Linked DNA regions of Homo sapiens: regions 2 and 3 are each linked to region 1. The links are contacts of gene promoters, found by promoter capture Hi-C in blood cells and fetal thymus (Javierre and others, 2016). All regions are on one chromosome and are shown on one strand. Each heading gives the region's core, a stretch centred on a gene start or on the middle of the fragment in contact. The rest is flanking DNA. Distances are from core to core; before and after follow the strand shown.

Region 1 (3,215 bases), core at 445-2,944:
GCTGTGCTTGCCTGTGTTTTGGAATATATGAAGAATTCTCTGGGTCTGTGCATATGGGGCTTCTGCATATGAGCTTGGGTGTTTTCCTGCCTTTCTCTGTCTTCTAATTGTGTGTGGATGCGTCTGGACCACAGGCTGGTGTTAGTATCTGCGGAGGAAAGAGGAGCTGTGGCCGCTACACATCAACAGAGGGCACCAGAGAGCCACGCACCTACTTTCAGGGGCAGAAATTGAGAAAACTTGGCGGGGAGTGTTAGAGACCCAGGAGATCTGGGATCTGGGAGGAAAGAAGTGGAGACCTCTTTGGACCAACACATTACTGTAAAATTGTGCAATTCCAGCAACTTCTCTGTCCATTCCCTAGGGTCCAGACCTCTGGCTACCCGAGCAATCCTGTGAGCAGAAGTATCTGGTCAGGGGTGAGAAGAGGAGCTGGTTGCCAAACTGGGCCCTTAAGAAAGTGGAGATCCCTCCTGAATGCTCTCATGATTCTCAGGAATTCCCTTCCTTCCTAGTTCCTCCATGTCCCTACCCCAAAAGATCTCAAACTCCAGCGTGCTTAGAGATCTGACTGGTGGCTGTCTTCTCCTCTGGCTTGCATTCAGGGAGGTGAGGCCAGGTCTTGGCCCTTCAAAGCCATCCAGTTGGCTACCTTCTCCTTCGGGATGGGTGGAAGGCTAAGATGAACAAAGGAAGGGTCAACTGTGCCTCTTCCAGGCCGCTGAGTCCTCCAACGCCTAGCTGTGCTCAACCTTGACTGGGTGAAGCCAAGGCAGGGCCTCAAGGCAGGTCCAAGAGGCAGCTCCCATTCTCCAGTTCTGGGTTTTATAGGTGGGGAGAGGCATGTATGCCCCTCCCTTATCCAAGCATTCATTAGTCAATTGAGAATTCTTAATTTGGGGAATCTAGGGGCTAGACTTTGGGTGTGGAATTTAAAAAGAAAGGTCTTTATGTTTATTTAACTCCCTGCCCCCCACCCCACTCCTAGACACACACACGGAAACACACACACACACACACACACACACACACTCCCCATCACATCCTCTGAGCTAGAGGCTGATGTCCCTCAGCCCATGTTCCTCCTCCACTGCTTAGTTCCATAGCCCGCGACCAAGATTGCGTCTATAAATAGGAGGGGGTGGGGTGGCCAGGGGTCCCGTCGTGCCTGCCCCAGAACCCACGACGGTCACATTTTTCACCCCCTTTTGCCTTTGCCCTCAATTCCTTTCCCTCTTTGCTCTCCTTCCATCTCAGTTCCAGCGAGGGGGGTATGTGTGTGCGCGCGTTGTGGGGGGGCAGGGGGAGGGCTCGTGGAGGGAGGCGCCGTCGGAGGGAGAGTAGACGTCAGGCGGAGGGAGGGAGGCAGGCAGGCAGGGAGGCAGGGAGGGAGAGAGGGAAGGAAGAGAAGGGGAGAGAAAGGGGGAGCAAAGACCGAAAGAGACCCAGAGAGATACAGCTTGAGAGGAGAAATAATTAAAGGGGGAGGGCGACCAGGAGGAGAAAAAGGTCTGGGAGGAAAGAGAGATAAAGAGAATCGGAGGGCAGGGAAATGAGTTTGTGCGCGTGAGTGTGCGCGCGCGCGTGTGTGTGTGCAGGGGCGGGCGCGGGCGGGCGGGGGGCGGGCTCCCGGGCTCCCGGGCTCCCCTCCTCCCCAGCCCGCTCCTCTGGCTCGCTCGCCAACTCCGGGCCCCAGCCGCGGGCGGGCGCACGGCGGGCGGACAGCATGCTGAGCCTCCTCGTCTGGATCCTCACTCTCTCCGATACTTTCTCCCAAGGTAAGGGCCCCCAGCCCACCCCCGGACGCTCGGCTTCCCCCCGGGGCCGGGGCACTGCTTCCCCGGTGGGAGAGTGCTGGAGTGCCCCGCGGCCCGCGGCCAGTCCCCGGGTCCGGACGCCACGAGGCGGGGGCTCGGTCCGGGCGCAGAGCCCTGGGGGAGGGGGCGCGGAGTAACGAGGGGCTGGGGAGAATGAGTTTGCCGTTGATTTGCCCAAGTTGTTTCCTCTGGCTGCGCGGGAGAACCGAGCAATGGGGCCGCGAGGGCTGGAGGTCCGAGTAAAACGGGGAACCGAACGCTTTCTCTTGAGCTTCTGGCAGCCCTACCGACCCTCGCCCTCTGAGGCCGGGGTTCCGGACGCCTGAGTCCAGCCTAAGGGCAAGGCTGGGAAGAGGGTGGGATTTCGGATTTCGGGCGAGGGGGTGAGCGAAAAGCTGGGTCCCACCTCCCGAAGATGTTGCCAAGGGGATCCCCCTACTCCAGCCCAGCCCCTCGGGGGTCTGAGTCTGAATCACGGCTCCAGCCTGCCTGGGGCTGCCCCCTCTAGAGGAAGGGAGGGGTGTCTCGGCGCCTCTAGTGGGGATTTGGAACCCCTGCCCACGGAGGCTCTGGGTGGAGAGTGGAGTTCCACATACAGCTTCAGGCCCGCTTGATACAGAGGGGGGGAACTCACGGGGGCGGGGGCAGAGGCGGTGGGGGGAGGGGGCTGACACTCTACTTGGGCTCAGGAAAGTGTTGCTGTCTGGGGCTTATTTGACACTGGCAGGGGAGAGGCTGGGAGGTGAGGGAGGTGGTTGGGAGAGATGAGGATGTCAGTGTATCCTGGGCAGGGCTGGGGTTGGGGGAGGGAAGAGGGCTGAGGGAACCAAGGGTCCAGACTGCAGCAGGGACTGGGGTCTGTGGGAGTTGGTTCTTGCCTCCCAGGTCTGACTCTAAGGAAGACTGAATCCTGCTGAACTCCTTCCCTCCCCAAAAATGGAGCTGACACACAGAAATTGACACACAAACACCGTAAAACACTCACAGACACTGAGACAGACTACTCACCTACTGAGAGAGAGACATCCCCACAAACATCCCCCACACTGAGACAGACACATATACACAAAGACACGGAGACATCTGAGGAAGACAGATTCCTCCCCCAGATCGGCACACACTCACGCATTCATCCACCCGAACGTTACAACTATACACAGTACATGTATGCAGGCGTTTACAAGGACAGGACACACGCTCTCACAGAAACCAACCCTCTAGCAAACAAAGAAACTTGAACAGACATTCATATGGGCAGACACCTATGGAGATGTACAGACTGCAGATGGAGGAGGTGTCCTCTTTTAGGGGGTGTCTGGGAATGGATCTGGGTAGAACAGCCTCAGGCATTATTGCCCTGCTTTCTGTTCCCTTCCTGCGTTTGTAGGTGGTGTGTTA
Region 2 (3,215 bases), core at 514-3,013, 100 kb after region 1:
TGGGCAGGCTTTGGCCTAGGGACATGAAGTATGGGAGTGGGTGGCTGTGGCACAGACAGGTGGAAAACGGGATAGCCTGGCCAGTCCCTCTGTTGTCTGCATTCGTGCCCTGGGTGCCTCTCTCCTTCCTCAGGGTACTGCAGAAGGGAGCGAACAGGGTACTGTTCGCTCTTGTCTACAGAACAGCCCTGGCACTGCATTCAAATCCAGTCTTCATTCAGCTGGGATCAAAATGCCAGTCACCTTGGCTACCCACTGTGGACAGCTGTCTGTCAGCATGCAGAGGGATCCAGGAATCCCCCCGGCAGCACGGCCCGCTTTCCTTCTCCTCCATGCTGGGCCAGCCAGATAAGTCAGGGTCCTGGTGGAGAAAGAAAGGCTAGGACCATGTCCTCATTGACCCAGATACTGCTGTGTGCTGCACAGCAGTGAACCAACACTAGAGGGAGCCACACAAGCCTCCTCTCCCCAGTCTGCCCCACTTCCTGGCTTTAACTCTTGAGCTGGTTTGGGGAGTGGTGAGGTAGGGGTGGGGGTGCTGTAGGCTCTTTTTCAAAGAAAACAAAAAACAATGAAAACCTCATTTGGGAAGAAAAGCTGTAGGGATTCCCCCACCCAAATACAAGTCCCAGTGGAAAGGAAAGGTAGTACCTATTCTTCTCCATGGGGTTCCTAACACCCTCCATTACTCTTTCAGTCTCCAAGCACTTTGAATCCATTTTTAAACATTCAGGTTGCCAGACCTGTCACACAGTGGACTCTGATAGGGTTACGGAGGGGGCCTGGCTCTCAGTCTCTACTCTCCTATGTCCCATCAGTTGGTTGGAGGCCACCTTCCAGGGGGTATGGGAGACAGGTTTTGGTTTTTAAGTGTCTTTTTTTTTTTTCTTGGACCAATCAGATTCCTTCTTCCACTTTCAGTGCCTTGAGTGTCAAGCTTTGGATGACCGACCCTATGTGGGCGGTTGTGTGGGGAGTGGGTACTTGTGAGCCTCGGACACACTGTTAAGTGTTACAGTGTTAGGAGAGAGATGGGTGAGGGGACCTGGAGAGGTAAGGGGCCTGGAAATGGCCCTGACAGAGAACTTGTGCTGACCGGGAGAAGGTGGTGCGGAAGGGCACCGCAGGCATTACACAGGCCATTTCTCCTCCTCCATGTGCACGCACATCCAACACACACCTTCCATGTGACTGCTTCTCAGCCACCACTTTCTGACCAAAGAGAACAGGCGCTCCAAGGAGAACCTGTACCCCTGCCCCAGCCTCGCCTTCCTAAAAAGCAGTGTCTGGAGTTGGCTGTTTCCCGCCTCCCCAGCTGCATGTCCAGCCCAGTGGGAGACAGGGCCTCTGGTGCAGTTCCCAAAATGTTCCTCGCCCTTTCTCCGTGGTCACCATTCATAATTCATGTTCGCTTTAATGAGTTACATGCTTATCAGCCACAGGCCATTACCACCCTTATGGATGGGTCTGGGGGGCGACATTCCTGGCCAACCCCTTGTAGGAAGGACCAGATAATACCCAGGAAGCAAGTAGCTCTAATTTTAACTTCACAGGAAGTCTGTGCATCCTCCTTCATTTCAGCAGGGAAAACTCCTGTGGAGTGGGCCCTATCTGGGGCATTTACAGGCTTCCAGCTGTATTCCATCCCTGGAAGCTGATACCTTTCTATAGAGTCCTTTTATGAGAGCTCAGTGGGAAGGTCTGTCAAGAAATTCAGGTTCTTGTACAGACAAATTCATGCAAATTTCTATTATTTTCACAAAAACCAGAAACCATGGGGGAATCCAAAGACTTGAAGTCTAAAGATGGTGGCTTTTAAAACATGCATATTCCAAAAAGAATTCATTTTTGTTTTGGGTTTGGCTAGATTCTCTTATTTATCCCCTTTTAGCTTAAGTATTAGTTTCATTCTACTGAAATGATGGAGAGAGGGCCTAAGGTTACTAGGTAATTGAGCTGATGGTGCAGGGAGAATTGTTGAGAAAGGAAGCCTAGTTTCCAGAAGCCTGACACAGAGCTACTTCACTGTCCTCTACTCCTTAACAAGGTAACTGGAGCCTCTTGGGTGTCAAACAAGCACCCTGGAAGGCACAGGGAAGCATCAGCAACCAAGGTAGTCTCTGCCCTCTGTAACTTACGTGTTGGTGCATCAGAATCTGAATTGGAACCTACCTGATGGGCCCAGTGGAATAGCTTTTCTGGGGAGTGGAAGGCGTCCTTGATCACAGAGCTTTGCTGTCGAATCCTGGAGTCCTGCAACATGGTGATGCCTCAGTAGTTGGTGATCCTGATCACCTTTGGTGGCTTGTTTTAGTGGAAAGAGCAAGGGACTAAAGGTCAGGAGACCCAGGACCCAGTCCTGAAGCTGCAAAGGTTAGATCTCGGCCTAACTTTCTGTTCATTGCCCCCAATTTGTCTGGCCTGTAAAATGAAGGGGGAGGGTTGCATAAACCTAAAACTATTCTGGTTTTGTTATACCCATAGGGTTGGGGGTAGGGATGGGACTGCCCATTGCTGGCAAGGAACTGGGAACAGTAGCAAGCATGGTGAGGGCTGGAGAGCTGGCTGGGGGGGTTCTCTCCTGTTCAAAGAAGCTTTCACCATGGGCTTCATTATCTTGTCAGAAGTGAATTAGTTTCCACCAGGGACCCCTTTATCCCAAACAGCAACACAAAATACACCCTAAACCTCAGAGTAAAATTGATGTGGGGCTATCCTTTGGCTATCGGGTCATCTGTGCTGCTCCCCACTCATTTCTGATGGGTTTGCAAAGGTGCCTTTTGCCAGGGCAGGACATAGTATGCACATAGGGATATTGTTATGTGCCTAGGTTTCAGGCACTCCTTCTGTAGGGGAAAATGGGAGGAGCCTTCCTCCACCCTGATCCTTAGGAACATTCCTCTGGCCCAGGGACAGCTTGTTCTTCTCACCAAACAGGTGAAGCCTGCAGTCCAAGGTGCCTGGAGCCAGAGGTCGGGGAGTAAGCACAGCTGCCCCTGCCTGAGAAGGAGCAGCTTGCAAGGGGAGCCGGTGGAGGGAAAGGGGTACAACAGCTTTGGAATACATTCTGGATCTTGAGGAGGATCTTGTGATTTTGGCTGAGCCACGGTCACTTCCCTCGTGAAGGACCCGCCCTATATCCTAAATTCTGGATCCCTCAAAGTCCAGCCACAGAGTTTGCATGAAGCAAAAAGCCTAGTAAGTGAGAAAGGAAA
Region 3 (3,215 bases), core at 324-2,823, 81 kb after region 1:
AAGAAGCCACTAAAAACCCAGGACAAGTGGCCTAGCATCTGGGTACAGATCAGAGAGAACAGGACTTGGTGAAGGGAGACTTGGGGCGTTCCTGTAATCATAAGCCAGGTCGGCATAACCCAGGGGCATCTGAACTATATTTGGGATTCTATGTTGGCTGCAGGGGCTGTTTTGGGACCAGAAAACATTGCCAGTGGCTTTAGTAGGCCCAGGGTCTAGGCTGCCTTTCCATCCAATTAAATTCCCGAGATGTCTTTACTTCCCCTCCTTTCTGGACTCTCTGCAAGGTTATTACTTCCATGCCCCTGTGTCTGGACTGAATTGCTTCAGTCAGGCCTAAATCAAGAGGAAACTTCAAAACTGCCAGAAAGTCAGATACCACCTTCTTTGTCATGTTCCTATTCAGGTTTCCAGTTGTCCCTCTAATTGTCTAACTGTTCAGGAGAAATAATGATCATAGCTGCCATTTAGTGCATACAGGCAAGGGACTGTACCACGCATAGCATACACCTCATCTCATTTTACTTTGACAGCAATCCAGAAATAGACATTAACATTCCCCAGTTTACCAGGCAGGAAAATGAAGCTTAGCAAATAACTTGGCCAAGGTCACTGGGTGAGAAAGCCACACAGGCAATATATAAACCACAGTCTGTCTCCTAAACCTGTCCTCTTAGTATTTGGGCACAGAGGGATTTGGCGTTCCTCAGTCCAGGCTTGTCATTGTACAGGTGAGCAAATGGGGGCCCATATGAGGAATTGACACACCCAAGGTCACACCACTCCTCATCTCCACAAGACCCCCGTTTCCTGATTCTTACTTCAAGTGCTTCCCATCTCCATCTTGCCGCAGGGTCAGCTGCTTCTTCATTCCAAGTGGACAAGGAGCCAGCTGCTCACTGTCCTTGAGAGACTTCAGCGAGAGACCAGGGTGTCCAGGCTCCATGCAGGAAAGCCATGCGTATAAATTCCACCTCTGAGCCAGGGCTCACCAGCAAGCCCACTCTTAAGCCCTTGACTTGGGCTCCAGGGGCCATGGGAAGGAGAAACGTGAGTGTGGAGAGTTTGCAGCATATAGCTGCACTAGAGAAATGCGCAAGGATATGAATAAATTTGAATAATAATGAGGACAATGCTTGAATTAATAATGTTGGCTGCTCACCTGACCCACCCCTCCCCCAGGATCTCAGCACCTGCCACCCTGATCACTCAAAAGGGATTATCCTTTAGAAGACATGAATGAAAGGTCAGGTCAGCAGACTTGAGGAGCCACTCATGGAGTATGGGAGAGGGAGCCTGTTTCTAACTTCCTGGCCCCTGCAGACCCAAAGACCTAAATTTGCACACTTAATCAAGAGTAAAGAGTCTGCCTCATGCTAGATCACATTCTGGTTATCAGTCCACTCTAGGCCCCAGCTACCTCTTTTTCAGACCCCTTTGTGTGCAACAACCAGTGGGGATGGATGTCGGATGTTCAGGAGATTCAGATGGGGGAGAGAGCTTGGCCCTCTGCCTTAGAGGAGATGTTGGCATTCTGCTGGAACAGATAGGGCAAATGTCCTCACCTACTAGTTGCCCTCTACCCTGTGACAAACAAAATCATGGACATTACCCCTGATCATTTGAGAGAGGAAACCCCGTACATAGTGATAACAGCAGGGCCGAGTGACGCGACCGGTTATATTTGCCCAAGAGGCCAAGGAATTGGGCTAGGAGGGCTTCCTGGAAGAGGGACATGTAGAGCAGGTTTGAGGAAAAAAGGAGAAATGGGGCTGGTGAAGAGAAAGGAAGGAAGGGGATGAGACTAGGATCCCACTTCTGTGGTGGCTTAGAGGGACATCTTGGAGTGGCGAGGGGTGAGTTAAGTTTGCTTACACACAGGAGTGATGATGGGGCAGATAAATTTTAGAAAGCTCTGTTAGGAAAAGGTCAGATTTGGGGATTGTGGCCTCTGCAGATTCATGAGCTGTGGAGGGAAAGAAGAAGGAGGAGGCCGTGACTTTTGGGGAGAGCCGATTTCAGTTACCTGGTATGACAGGTTGGGAGCATGGCAAGGAAGTCCCAGAACTCTCCTTTGCTGTCCTTCAGTCACTCCCTTGTCCCCCTTCTCCTTTCCCCACAACTTGGCAAAGGAACCTGAGCCCCATAGCTCACATAGCTCTGCAAGGAGCCTAGGCCTGCCCCACCACTGGGGCCGACCAGTGCTGGTTGGAGCCAGTGGGTGGGAGTGGTGGGGGAGAAAAAACCCGCAATGCAATTCCCTGCTCCATTTAGGCTCCACAATTAAAGGCAATTACTCTGCAGTTCTCTAATCAAATGCTCCCGGCCGAGCTGCCAGCCGGGCAGCCATGTGTAGCTCCCACAGCCGGAGGGAGAGTGGAACAAAGTCACGTGGCCTCTCAGCTCCCACAGTGAAGGAGGCGGGGTGTGTGCAGGTGTGTTCATGTGTACACACTTAGGCCCCCCTGCACTTGGGAGCGAAGGATGAACACACAGAGCAGGGCACATGTGCCAAGAAGTGGGTTCAGAGCTACTTTGTTTTGGATACACTTTCCACCCAGGAAGCTTCTATACACACATGTGGACATGCTGGCTTTATAGTATCTACCCTGATGTATTCGTGGAGGAATTGTACCTGGCATAGTTGCACATGAGTGTTGGTTCACATTGACTCCCATCAGCTCACATGACACGCGTCTAAGTAGGAGTCATTAATGTGGGGGTGGGCTGGGGCAATGGGTAGTAGAGGAACAGCTAGGACCTGGATGCAGGGGCTCAGGTTCTAATCCCAGCTCTGCCATTAACTTGCCCTTGAGTAAGTTACTGTCCTCCCTGGAAGTCAGGGTCCTCCTCTGTAAAATGAGAGGGTTGGACTAGACCCATTTTTAAGGCCCTTCTGTAACAGTGCACTATTTTCTGTGATTGCTGAGCACTTCAGCTCCTGAAATCCATTCCCATGGGTCTCAGAGGGAGGAAGGAATAAAGGGTAAGGACGTGGCATCTTGAAACAAAGGGGTTGAGGCTGAAGGGGGGCAGGGACCGGAGAGTCCCCATCCCCAACTGGAGGCTCTCCCTCCTTCCAGCTGCATGGTGAGGGGGACCTCTTAGAGGAGCCCCTCTCCTTACTCATCTTACCCAGTGCTGGCTTTGGCTTTGCAGGGACCCAGACCCGCTTCAGCCAGGAGCCAGCTGACCAGACGGTGGTGGCTGGACAG

Evidence for each region. The method cuts DNA at HindIII sites, captures the fragments that hold promoters and counts their contacts. A CHiCAGO score of 5 or more calls a contact.
Region 2: a contact is called between a fragment that was not itself captured here and the fragment with the promoter of KIRREL1 in region 1, in 3 of 17 cell types (endothelial precursors, megakaryocytes and fetal thymus). The highest score is 12.1, in endothelial precursors.
Region 3: a fragment that was not itself captured here is called in contact with the fragment with the promoter of KIRREL1 in region 1 in 1 of 17 cell types (endothelial precursors); the score reaches 9.0 in endothelial precursors.

What each region holds. Positions count from the first base shown.
Region 1 is chr1:157,991,951-157,995,165 of GRCh38, forward strand. It overlaps KIRREL1 (kirre like nephrin family adhesion molecule 1), which reads left to right and starts at 1,695. Exons shown (of 15, transcript NM_018240.7): 1 at 1,695-1,778. The coding sequence starts at 1,727. The HindIII fragment of the contact is 5,747 bases long and covers 1-3,215 here.
Region 2 is chr1:158,095,495-158,098,709 of GRCh38, forward strand. KIRREL1 (kirre like nephrin family adhesion molecule 1) reads left to right here. Exons shown (of 15, transcript NM_018240.7): 15 at 1-3,215. Among named protein-coding and RNA genes, the nearest start is that of SMIM42, 31 kb to the right of the region's middle. The HindIII fragment of the contact is 1,657 bases long and covers 936-2,592 here.
Region 3 is chr1:158,072,954-158,076,168 of GRCh38, forward strand. KIRREL1 (kirre like nephrin family adhesion molecule 1) reads left to right here. Exons shown (of 15, transcript NM_018240.7): 2 at 3,160-3,215. Among named protein-coding and RNA genes, the nearest start is that of KIRREL1-IT1, 49 kb to the left of the region's middle. The HindIII fragment of the contact is 1,979 bases long and covers 585-2,563 here.